Linked DNA regions of Homo sapiens: regions 2, 3 and 4 are each linked to region 1. The links are contacts of gene promoters, found by promoter capture Hi-C in blood cells and fetal thymus (Javierre and others, 2016). All regions are on one chromosome and are shown on one strand. The core of a region is centred on a gene start or on the middle of the fragment in contact, and the rest is flanking DNA. Distances in the headings are between cores, read along the strand shown.

What was found. The method cuts DNA at HindIII sites, captures the fragments that hold promoters and counts their contacts. A CHiCAGO score of 5 or more calls a contact.
Region 2: the fragment with the promoter of HORMAD2 here is called in contact with the fragment with the promoter of LIF in region 1 in 9 of 17 cell types (neutrophils, erythroblasts, monocytes and 6 more); the score reaches 10.8 in neutrophils.
Region 3: a contact is called between a fragment that was not itself captured here and the fragment with the promoter of LIF in region 1, in 16 of 17 cell types (M2 macrophages, neutrophils, monocytes and 13 more). The highest score is 21.4, in M2 macrophages.
Region 4: a contact is called between a fragment that was not itself captured here and the fragment with the promoter of LIF in region 1, in 4 of 17 cell types (neutrophils, activated CD4 T cells, naive B cells and 1 more). The highest score is 7.3, in neutrophils.

What each region holds. Positions count from the first base shown.
Region 1 is chr22:30,245,346-30,248,380 of GRCh38, forward strand. It overlaps LIF (LIF interleukin 6 family cytokine), which reads right to left and starts at 1,414. Exons shown (of 3, transcript NM_002309.5): 1 at 1,332-1,414. The coding sequence starts at 1,350. LIF-AS2 (LIF antisense RNA 2) reads left to right here and starts at 865. Exons shown (of 1, transcript NR_148946.1): 1 at 865-1,648. The HindIII fragment of the contact is 10,846 bases long and covers 1-3,035 here.
Region 2 is chr22:30,078,846-30,081,880 of GRCh38, forward strand. HORMAD2 (HORMA domain containing 2) reads left to right here and starts at 1,619. Exons shown (of 11, transcript NM_152510.4): 1 at 1,619-1,646. HORMAD2-AS1 (HORMAD2 and MTMR3 antisense RNA 1) reads right to left here and starts at 1,412. Exons shown (of 5, transcript NR_110541.2): 1 at 1,283-1,412. RefSeq lists enhancers at 1,075-1,772, 1,610-1,689 and a silencer at 1,220-1,269. The HindIII fragment of the contact is 6,725 bases long and covers 1-3,035 here.
Region 3 is chr22:30,099,855-30,102,889 of GRCh38, forward strand. All of the region lies in intron 3 of HORMAD2 (HORMA domain containing 2), which reads left to right. Among named protein-coding and RNA genes, the nearest start is that of HORMAD2, 21 kb to the left of the region's middle. The HindIII fragment of the contact is 7,543 bases long and covers 1-3,035 here.
Region 4 is chr22:30,391,775-30,394,809 of GRCh38, forward strand. No RefSeq gene overlaps it. Among named protein-coding and RNA genes, the nearest start is that of SEC14L2, 3.7 kb to the right of the region's middle. The HindIII fragment of the contact is 1,502 bases long and covers 664-2,165 here.

The DNA of each region.
Region 1 (3,035 bases), core at 164-2,663:
CTCCCGTGGTGGCCCAGGTTCCTCAGCAGCGCTTCCCACTCACTGGCCCATTGCAGCCCAAATCTCCGAAGCCAGGCACCCATGGGGGCCACGGGGCATGGGGGAGTGGGGAGGAGTCCTCGGTTGACCCTCATCTCCCTCCCAAACCTGCCACTTGATTCTGGCTCCCTGGGCCAATTGCCCCCAATTCTGCCCCCGCCCCCATCATCCTCTATCTCTTCCTTCCCTAGTGTCCCCTATCTCACTCAAGCTCACCCCATTTCTGCCTGGCTGTCCCCACTCTCCATCCCCAAATCATCATTCAAAACTCTCTGTTCCCCCAGCTCCGGACAGCCCCTGACTCCATGCCTTCTCCCGACTCATCCGCTGTCCCTTGTCCCAGGGGTTCCCCTCCCTCCTAACACACACACACCGGCTCAGGGAGGGAGAGGAAATGGTGCACCAGGAGAGAGAAAAGGCAAAAGGTCATAGGCAGTCGGGTGGGCGGGGAGGAAGGAAAGTGAAAGGTGACAGGAGAGCTGGGAGCTGTCCCGACATGTCCTGGTTTGCCCCTCCCCCAGGGGGGCCTGTTCTCCCGACTCCCCCCAGGCCCCCTTAGACGCTTTTCCAGGGCTCTGCAGAAGGGCACCTGAAGATGGTGGGGGCCGGGGTCAGCGGGCGAGTGAGGCTGGAGACCTCCCCCGGATCCCCCATGCTGGAACAGCGGGGACAGGGGCCTCCTCAAGTTCACTTCTCCTGGGTCCCCTGTTCGTCCCAGCATCCCAAGGCAGTGCTGAGGCCCCGGGGTGGCTGCGGGAGGGGGGCCACACCCCTATATCTCACCTAGCGCAGACCACACGCTTCCAGACACCAGCAGATGGAGGCGGCACCTGCTCCCGTCCCAGGCCGGAGTTTGCAAGCTGCTCGCCGCCCGCGCCCCTCCCTGGGAGCAGCCCGGGACCGCGGTTGGAAAGGAGAAAGCGGAAAGAAAGAAAGAAAAGAAAAAGAGAGAGGGAGAGTGAATCTGGGAGAAAGCGCAGAGGGAAGAGCAGCCAGCGAGTGTCCGGAGCGAGGAGGAGGAGGAGGAGAAGGAGAGGGGGAAGAAGAGGAGGAGGAGGAAGGCTCGGCGCCCCCTCCCTCGCCGCCAACCTGCCGCGGGGCGTGCGGTGCTTGGGACCATGTGCCCGCGCTCGCTCCGGGCCGCCACCCAGCGCCTCCGGTGGCTGCGCGGGCGCCCCAAGTGTTCGTGTGTCTGCGGCGGGTGGGCGTCCGGCTCGCGCTGCCAAGCGCCCCAAGTTGCCGCCGCGCCCCGCAGCGGGGACGCGAAGCCGGCGCGGGGCGGGTGTATTTACCTGCCGCCAAGACCTTCATTATGGGCTGCACTTCAGAGGGCCTTGGAGGAAACCTCAGATGCCGGCAGTTTTCAGAGGTTCATGCTCAAATGGGGAATTTGCCTGATTTATATACTGGAGCCTGTGTTGTAAGACAGAAACAGCTATATTTAGCCGGGATCCCCAGTCCAGGAAGTTGTTTGAGGTGCATCATAGGAAATTATGAATGGAAGAAAGTGAGAGTGAAGGGGGGGGACGAGTGAGGGGGGAGGGTGGGGAGAACAGACTTTTTCCCTCTTCTAAGAATTTGATTGATAAAATTATAATGAAGCCTTCGACAAAACGCCCTGTGGTTTTCCTGCCTGGCTTGTCCCGGGAGTTGTCTGAAGATGGGCATCGCCAGGAGGGGGCCCCTGGCCGAGTCAGCAGGGGTCCCAGCAGTGGGCGCCCCAGACGGCCCTGACTCACCTGGGTTTGGGGAGGTAGCGAGTCTGGACTAGCAGATGGAGACTGGCCCCTGTGCCCCCTGGTTGGGGGGCTTTAGGGGGGCAGTGGGAGGAGGAGGGCTAGGGCTTGGCTGAGAAGGAGGCTCCAGGAGGAGGGGCCGGGGCCGGCGTGGACTTTAGACGGTCATAAAGTGGAACTGAACATGGGCGCTGGAAGCCACCCCAGAGGTAGCCTCCTCCAATCTGCACATTGCCACTGGGCCCCAAGGGGCTCCGAGGGGAACACGTTGCCCAGGGCCCCAGAGGGTCAGGCCTCCAGACACCACCAGTGCACTCGCCCTGCTGACCACTGTACCTGTGAGGCTGGGGAAGGGGCTAGGAAGACATGGGGGTAGGGGTGACTGACTCAGTTCTGTCGGGACACTCTGGGAAGGTGCTTCTGGGAAGGCGGTCCAGCATTTCCATTCTGAAGCAGGACTGAGAGAGGCTTGGCGAAATCGTACCCCAGTTTCCTCCTCCGGGTGCTGATTGATGGTTGGGGAAACTGAGAAGTGGCTGGTCCCTTCCAGACCTGCCTTGGAAGCCCCTTTGAGCCCAGCCTCAGAGAATGATGGAGGTCCCCAAAAAGTGCTTCTAGAGGCTCTAAGGCAGTGTCACATGTTCTGGCGTCTTCTGAGGCCAGGCGATTTGTGAATGAGGAAGGGCAGAAAGGAGCAGTGGGGAGCCGGGCAAAATGAGCACAGGGACACCTCCAAGAAATGCAACAGAAAAGTGAAAATAAATACACCCTATGAGATGCGGGAATGCCGGCCAGACAGCATGGCCACGCGTCTGGGGCCATGCCGTCCCTAAAGCTGCCAGGGGACCCCCAGTACCAGGAGATGATTTAGTCCCCTGTGGCCCCTTCCCAGCCCTTCCGCCTGACCCTGACCTGAGATCAAGGTGTGTGAGTTGGTTTTCCAAGGCCAGGGAGCTCTTGCAGCCTCGCCCGGGCCCCCACCGCCCCCTCGCCCATCCTCCATGCCCCCAGTTCCTGCCTCTTGCCACATCCCAGACCTGCCCAGCCACGGGTTCCTCCTTCATCGTGCCAGGACGAGCCCTGGTGCCTGCTGCCGTTCCCCACCACACACACACCCTGCTTTATCTACGCTCTTGCCCCCCATTCTCTCCCAGCAGGGCCTCGGATGTGAGGTGATAAAACTGCCCATCCCAGCTGGCACTTCCCGAACTGGCTCTCCTTCCTCCTTCCTGCCTCTCACCCCACACCTTGTCTCTTCTT
Region 2 (3,035 bases), core at 369-2,868, 170 kb before region 1:
GCTGAGAAGGGCTGGTGCAGACAAACCATCTGTGTGGTTGGAGCTTAAAAAGCAGTTACTTCCGGAAAGTATAGGGTGAACGCAGTAGTTCTCAACAGAGGGCAATTTTGCACACCCCATGGGACATTTGGCAAAGTCTAGAGAAATTTTTGGTTGTTATGATGGTGGGGGTGGGGAGAAGGTTGAGAAAACTTGCACTAAAAGAATATTTCAGCCCAAATTTCAGTTTTAGTCATTATGTTCTAAACTCATGTTCTCGCCAACTTGAATAGTTTTTTTTTTCTTTCCTGCAGAAACAAAATAAGAACAGGTTTCAAGTGGCTCACTCTTTCATCTACTCTCTTGGGAAATCCCCTTGGGGAGGTTCATGGGACTCCAGGAGCCTTTGGAAAGCACCACAGGATACGAAATATCTACCTAAACAGGTGAGAAACGATCCAAGGAGCCACACCCCCAACTGCTCCCACAGTTACCAGGGCAGAAAAAACTGAGATTAGGGGTAGGGCACAAAGGAGAATATATTTATGTTTTATTTGCATAATTACAAATTAATGTTAAAAAGAATGCAAAGTCAGGTCCAGGGTAGGGATGAAGAGGTTGCAGATGCCCTCAAGTATTGGAAAGCTCTGGCCTTCTGGCCTTATGTCTTTTTTCTTTCTTTTCTTTTTTTTTATTTTTGAGACAGGGTCTCCCTCTGTTGCCCAGGCTGGAGTGCAATGGTACGATCTTGGCTCACTGCAACCTCAAACTCCCCGGCTCAAGCGATCCTCCTACCTCAGCCTCCCGAGCAGCTGGGACTACAGGCGCACGTCAGGTGGCCCAGCTAATTTTTGTACTTTTTAAAATTTTTTTGAGACGGAGTCTCGCTCTGTCGCCCAGGCTGGAGTGCAATGGCGGAATCTCGGCTCACTGCAACCTCAGCCTCCTGGGCTCAAGCGATTCTCGTGCCTCAGCTTCCCAAGTAGCTGGGACTACAGGCGCGCGCCACCACGCCCAGCTAATTTTTGTATTTTTTGTAGAGACGGGTTTTCAACATGTTGGCCAGGCTGGTCTCGAATTCCTGACCTCAAGTGACGCGCCCGCCTCAGCCTCCCAGAGTGCTGGGATCCCAGGTGGAGCCACCGCGCCGCACTTCTCGGGCCTTCTTCTAACTCGGGTCCCTGGGCCCCCCAGGCTCTCGCTTCCCTCCCCTACGCCGCCCCGCGCCCGCCTCAGACCTCTCTGGGACCCGCCGGCCTGGCGTCCTGGCCCGCCCGAGCCCCACGGTCCCTCGGGTCCTAACCTCGGCGGGGCAGGCACCTCCTCAGGAAGCCCCGGAGCAGGCTGTCGTTGTATAGGTGGCCCAGGCTGGCGGCCCCTGACCGAAGGTCGCGTCGGGTCAGTGTGCAGCCCGTGGCTGAGAGGCGGCTGCTGAGGGGCCGGGCGGGCTAGGGGCCGGCTAGCCGCCGTTCGCCCCTGCTTTGCATATTCATGAAGTCTAGCGAGGCCGGTCGCCCAGGCTAGCCGTGGACGGGTCATGAATTATTCATGAGGAAACCTCTGGTCCCGCCCAGAAAGGCCTCGTTGACTATTCATGAGCCGAGGAGCGGGTTTGGGCCGGAAAAGGCCGTTGACCCCCGGTGGGAGGGAAGCGTCGACGAGCTGAGGTGAGGGCTGTTGAGACGCGAGGTCTCGGCCCAGAGAGGGCACTCGGGCGTTGTTAGTTCTGTCTTTATGTCAAAAAACAATTTTTTTTTCTTTTCTTATTACTTAAGGCTTTAAGTTGGATTTGAAAGTATCATATTTCGTGAGGGCCTAAAGTACTGTGAAGAGAATCGGGAGGGCAGGGGGCTGAGGAGGAAGGCAAAAGGGAGGCGATTTCCCCCAGAACTGGACAGAGAGCACCCAGGTAGTTTTGAAATTCAGATTTTTCTGGACATGAAATCAAACTTGCTGAGCAAGCAGCAGCCATAATGAGCCATGATGAGGCTGGCAGGGCAGACGATGTCTGTGCCCGACATTGGAGGGGGCCGTGTGTGGTGGAGCTTTGGGGAAGTTTATCTTACCTGGGTCAGATTCTCCCCAGCCATTGAGGTTTTCTGCCAGGATCGATGCCTGGTACAGGCCAAGAGGTGAGAGAGGTGGGGACAAGACACCCCGCCCCCCTTGACCTCAGCTCCCCTTTCACTTTAGTGAGGATTTGCCAATTAATCCCTATGGACTTTAGTTCCCTAAACAGAGGGAGAGAGTCTTGAACCTCAGGATTAGCCAATCGCCAAAATGTGTCCGAGTACGCAGGGCACTGGACAGGCTGTGCAGTACATCGTGTACTCAGCTGGTAGAAATGAGGGGTGGTTCTGGCCCCTAAAGGGGTTTTTAATCTCAGCAGGATCATAATCTAATTTCTCCTCCATTGGACCATCAATCTGTTGAGGTAGGAACAGTATTTTACATCTCGTAATCCTGCATGTTGTTGCCTGGCACATTGTAGTTGCCTCGTAGATGTTGAATGAATGAATAATTGAAATAGCATGAAAAAGATATTAAAAAGTCAAAAGAGCATGAACAAATACTCAATTAATATAGTGGAAGCCATTTTCTCTGAATGAGCACAGGTAGGGGAATTACCAGGGCCAAATGGAATTTGTTAAAATGGTGAATAATTTATTGAAGCAAGCTCTGTTGGAAGGTCTAAGTAATTGGGCGAACTTTGGCAAACCAAGTTCCCTTGCTTAGCCTCACTTTCCTTTTCTTTTTTCTTTTTTTTTTGTGAGATGGAGTCGAGCTCTGTGCCAGGCTGGAGTGCAGTGACGCAATCTCAGCTCACTGCAACCTCCACCTCTCGGGTTCAAGCGATTCCCCTGCCTCAGCCTCCCATGTAGCTGGGACTACAGGTGTGCACCACCACGCCCAGCTAAATTTTTTTATTTTTTTTTATTTTTAGTAGAGACAGGGTTTCACCATGTTGGCCAGGATAGTCTCGATCTCTTGACCTCGTGATCCTCCCACCTCGGCCTCCCAGAGTGCTGGGATTACAGGTGTGAGCCACTGCACCT
Region 3 (3,035 bases), core at 178-2,677, 150 kb before region 1:
CCAGCCTGGGTGACAAGAGCAAAACTTCATCTCAGAAAAACAAACAAAAACAAAAACAAAAACAAAAAACCCAAGTACCTAGGACTCAACAAGTTTTCAAAAATCTTATTTGTTTAAAAAGCTGGATTGTGTATCATGAAAATGGCCATACTGCCCAAAGTAAATTATAGATTCAATGTTATTCCCATCAAGCTACCATTGACTTTCTTCACAGAATTAGAAGAAACTACTTTAAATTTCATATGGAACCAAAAAGGAGCCCATATAGCCAAGAAAATCCTAAGCAAAAAGAACAAAGCTGGAGGCATCATGCTACCTGACTTCAAATTATGCTACAAGGCTACAGTAACCAAAACAGCATGGTACTGCTACCAAAATAGATATATAGACCAATGGAACAGAACAGAGGCCTCAGAAATAACACCACACATCTACAACCATCTGATCTTTGACAAACCTGACAAAAACAAGCATTGAGTAAAGGATTCCCTATTTAATAAATGGTGCTGGGAAAACTGGCTAGCCATACGCAGAAAACCGAAACTGGACCCCTTCCTTACACCTTATACAAAAATTAATTCAAGATGGATTAAAGACTTAAATGTAATACCTAAAACCATAAAAACCCTAGAAGAAAACCTAGGCAGTACCATTCAGGCCATAGGCATGGGCAAAGACTTCATGACTAAAGCACCAAAAGCAATTGCAACAAAAGCCAAAATAGACAAATGGGAACTAATTAAACCAAAGAGCTTCTGCACAGCAAAAGAAATTGTCATCAGAGTGAACAGGAAACATACAGAATGGGAGAAAATGTTTCCAATCTATCCATCTGACAAAGGTTTAATATCCAGAATCTACAAGGAACTTAAAACAAATTTACAAGAATAAAACAACCCCATCAAAAAGTGGGCAAAGGATATGAACAGACACTTCTCAAAAGAAGACATTTATGCAGCCAACAAACATATGAAAAAAAGCTCATCATCACTGGTCGTTAGAGAGATGCAAATCAAAACCACAATGAGATACCATCTCATGCCAGTTAGAACGGAAATCACTAAAAAGTCAGGAAACAACAGATGCTGGAGAGAATGTAGAGAAATAGGAATGCTTTTACACTGTTGGTGGGAGTGTAAATTAGTTCAACCATTGTGGAAGACAGTGTGGCAATTCCTCAAGGATATAGAACCAGAAATACCATTTGACCAAGTAATCCCATTACTGGGTATATATCCAAAGTATTATAAATCATTCTATTATAAAGACACATGCACACATATGTTTATTGCAGCACTATTTACAATAGCAAAGACTTGGAACCAACCCAAATGCCCATCAATGATAGACTGGATAAAGAAAATGTGGCACATATACATCATAGAAAACTATGTACCCATGAAAAATAATTAGTTCATGTCCTTTGTAGGAACATGGATGATGCTGGAAACCATCATTCTCAGCAAACTAACACAGGAACAGAAAACCTGTGTTATGTATGTTCTCACTCATAAGTGGGAGTTGAACAATGAGAACACATGGAAACAGGAAGGGGAACATCACACACTGGAGCCTGTAGGGGGGTGGGGGGCAAGGGAAGGAATAGCATTAGGACAAATACCTAATGCATGTGGGGCTTAAAACCTAGATGATGGGTTGATGGTTGCAACAAACCACCATGGCACATGAACAAACCTGCACTTTCTGCACATGTATTCCAGAACTTAAAGTATTAAAAAAAAAAAAAGCTGGATTGTGAATCTTGTTGACTTGTCACTAAAATAGGAACTGTCATTTGGAAAATAAACATAGAGAGCTACAAGTTGCCTTGTAAGATGTTATTTTTCAAAATCTAATTTTAAATTTCTTACATCTGTATTTAATGATATACCTTGGCCTCATTTCAGTCTAATTCTCTTGGTTGGGCATGGTGGCTCAGGCTTGTAATCCAAAGTGTAACCATAACACTTTGAAAGGCAAGGTGGGCAGACTGCTTGAGCCTAGGAATCCAAGACCAGCCTGAACAACACGGTGAAACCCTGTCTCTATAAAAAATACAAAAAATTAGCTGGCCATGGTGGTGAGTGCCTGTAATTCCAGCTACTCTGGAGGCTGAGGTGGGAGGATCATCTGAGCCTGGGGGGTTAAGGCTACAGTGAGCTGTGATTGCACCACTGAATTCCAGCTTGAGTGATACAGTGAGACTCTGTCTCAAAAAAAAAAATTATCTTAAGTAATGTAAGAGCATCAATAAAATGCATGTGTGCTATAAGCACATAAACATGATATTTGCAATCATGACAACCTCATTTGTATTATGACATCTTTTGGTCTATGAGATACAAACTTGTAATAGTGAATGTGTTTATATCTAACATATATTTGTAATTTTCCCTCTTGTCTAGAACATAGAATTGAGAAAGACATATTTTTGATAATAAGCACATATTGTGTGCCAGTCACTACCCTAGGCAACGGCAATGATACCATTCCCTATAGCTTTATTTTTTGTGACAGTTATTGTGGAAGTTTTATGTCTCCCTTTCAATGTTTGTTCTTAAAGTAATATACATCATAAAAATGCTTAATACTCCTGTGTCACTCTCTTGTAATTTCTGAATGTTATATCAACATGGGATAATTTTCATATCCCTCAATAGAGATACAGGTAACATCAATTTTAGTATAGGAAAACAATACGAAAAGGTGAAGTTGCTTATGCAAAATCACACATAAATCAGTGATTGATCTTGGACTACTTTAAACCAAAACTCTATTTATTTATTTTGAGAGGGAGTCTCATTTCATTGTCCGGGCTGGAGTGTGGCGGCATGATCATTACAGGATTACAGCTTCGACCTTCCAGCCTCAAGTGATCCTCCTGCCTCAGCTTCCTGAGTAGTTGGGAGTATAGGCATGTGCCACTATGCCCAGATAATTTTTTTAATTATTTTTTTTAGAGGTGAGGTTTCACTAGGTTGCCCAGGCTGGTTTCGACGTCCTAGGCTCAAGCAATCCTTCTGCCTCAGCCTCCC
Region 4 (3,035 bases), core at 165-2,664, 150 kb after region 1:
GTGACCGTGACCAGCAATGGCTTCTGCCCTTGAGAACAGAGAGAAAACCATAACCACATACACAAGCAAGATCATTTCAGGCCACGGTAGGTGCCACAGGAATGAGATAAAATAGCCTCAGAGAGGGGCTGGGGGCCAGAGGCCACTTCAACCTCATTACCAGGGAAGGGAGACCTCTCTAAGAGGTGGTGTGTGGGCTGGCACCTGAATGGCAAGAATATTCAAGAGAAGAAACAGAGAATGCAAGTGAAAACAGCTGATACCAGCTGGGTACAGTGGGTCATGCCTGCAATCCCAGCAGTTTGGGAGGCCACAGTGGGAGGATCAGTTGAGGCCAAGAGTTCAAGACCAGCCTGGGCAACATAGTGAGACCCCCATCTCTACAAAAAGAAACCCACAAAAAATTTAAAAAAACAGCCAATAGCTTTACAGTGTTCCAGGTACTCTTCAACGTTTTTTTCATGAATTCGCTCATTTAATCTCATTCCAATCACATGAGGTAGTAAGATTATCACTGCCATTTTACAGATGAGAAATTGAGGCAGAGGTCAAGTAACTTTGCTAGGTTATAGAACCCGGACCCAAACCTAGGTAGTCTGGTTCCAGAGTTGGTGGGCCCACTCCTATGCCATTCTGCTCTGAGAGGTCACTGGTGTGGGAACAAGCTTGCCTACCGAATCTGGACTCTATTTTAGCTCTATTTGGGGTGGAAATGGCAACCCATCCTTCCCAAGCGAAGTCCCCAGGCTCCTGCCAGCTAGTGCCAGAGCCATAGCAGGGGCCCCAGCACCCCTCCGGCCCTCCCCTCCCCTCTGGGGGACTCCTGAGGTCCCAGCTCCCTGCCCCCAGCCTCTGTGCTCACAGCTATCTGGGCCACCTCATTCTAAAGGGATTTGGCTCTTGGAGACAACTGGAGACTGGTGAGAAAGGGCTTAGGGATTAGACAGTGATACCCAGGAAGGTAAGGGACTTAATCAGGGGTTCGAGTGTGGGAAGTGGGGTGGGGAGAGGATTTTGTTTCTTTGCAAAGCCAGGCTGGACTGCAGAAGTGAGGAGGAAGTGGGGCTCGGGGGAGGAGCCAGACAGGCTTAGTTTCTCACTCTCTGTTGTGCCTTCAGAAGCAACATGATAGAATAATAATCCCTCACCTGTGTGCGCCCACCACTTCCCCAGCCATTATTTCACTTGGAATTCTCACAGTGGCGGGATTAGTTCTCTCCCCAGATCACAGACACCCAGAGGAGGCAGGTGACTTGAGGCAGCTGCAAGCCCCACAGGGCTGGGCTGGGAGGAGGGGAGGAGGTTGGGGCCAGGGCTTTTCTGCATGGCTGCCCGCAGGCACAAGGGTTTTCCAGAGAGTTCGCGCTGCCCTGGCCCCGTGGAAGTAGAGTGTTCCACAAATATTTGTGAAGAGTTTAAAAGACTGTTCTTTCCAACTCTCAAATCACAATGCCAATCTCTGTGCCACCCCCTTCCCCCTGGCACCACAGATTCTGAGGCCAGGGCACGCAGGAGGCCTCTGATCTCAAGGCCAGTGCCCTCATTTTAGTGAGGAAACAACCAAGGTCTAGAGGGCACGGCCAGCAGCCCTGAGGAGACCCCCAAATATGCGTCTTGTGGAATAGTCACGGCAGCACATTAAGCAAGAACATGGTCTCCAGCCCACACACCAGACTCCCGGTCCAGTGCTCCTTCCTGTGCCCAGAGCTGCCCCCCAGAAGAATCTGAAGCACAGGGCTCTGTCAACGCTAGGACTGCCATCCCAACGCTTCTAGATCTCTGCGTGCCACCAGCCTTCTTTAAGTTGTTCACACTCTATGTTCCCCTAAGCAAAGTCCCCAGCAAGATATACCCAGAGCAACACACCCATCACAGAAGGTTCTCCCCTCCAGCCTGCCTGACCCAGGAGGCCTGGTTCTTCCTGTTGGGCCATGCTATTCCCTGAGAGTTGCCACTACAATGCAAAATAGTCCACATCAAGGCCAGGAAAGGGGACTTCTGGTTGGCAGAGGTCGTGTTGCATTGGGTAGCTCAGGGAGAAGCTCCTGGAAACAGTATTTGATCAGAGTCTTGAGGGCTGGGGAAGACCTGGCAGGAGGATACAGGACACAGCAGCAGCTCTCACAGAGGCAGGAGGGCAGAGGTGTGTCTAAGGGACAGTGGGAAGCTTCTCAGATTGAAATGAAGTGTGTGGAGAGGGCAAGTGGCCGTTGGTGCCACAAGGAATGCTGGGCTGGGGTGGGGGTAGGCCTCAAATGCAGATCAGTGGGATTGAGTCAACTCAGGAAGGAACCGGGGAGCCATTGAAGATTCTTGAGCAGGGGTGCAACATACCTAGCAGGGAGGAAGAACTGTAGGGCAGGGATTAGGGGATGGAGAAAAAGTGGGGATGGGAAGGAGGGACTCTCTCTTGTTAGCCAGCTCCAGGACTTCACCAGATTATTTATTTATGTGTTTTTGTTTGTTTGCTTGTTTTTTTTTTTTTTTTTTTTTAGACCGAGTTTCTCTCCTGTTGCCCAGGCTGGACTGCAGTGACGTGATCTCGGCTCACTGCAACCTCTGCCTCCTGGGTTCAAGCGATTCTCCTGCCTCACCCTCCCAAGTAGCTGGGTTTACAGGCGCCCGCCACCATGCCCGGCTAATTTTTGTATTTTTAGTTTCACCATGTTGGCCAGGCTGGTCTCAAACTCCTGAACTCAGGTAATCCACCCGCCTCAGCCTCCCAAAGTGCTGGGATTACAGGCGTGAGCCACTGTGCCTGGCTAGGTTTTTTTTTTTTTTTTTTTTTTTTTTGAGACAGAGCCTTGCTTTGTCGCCCAGGCTGGAATGCAATGGTGCCATCTTGGGTCACTGCAGCCTCCACCTCCTGGGTTCAAGCGATTCTCCTGCCTCAGGCTCCCAAGTAGCTGGGACTACAGGTGTGTGCCACCATGCCTGGCTAATTTTTTTTTTTTTGGTATGTTTAGTAGATACGAGGTTCACCATGTTGGCCAGGCTGGTCTTGAACTCCTGACCTCAGGTGATTCACCCACTTC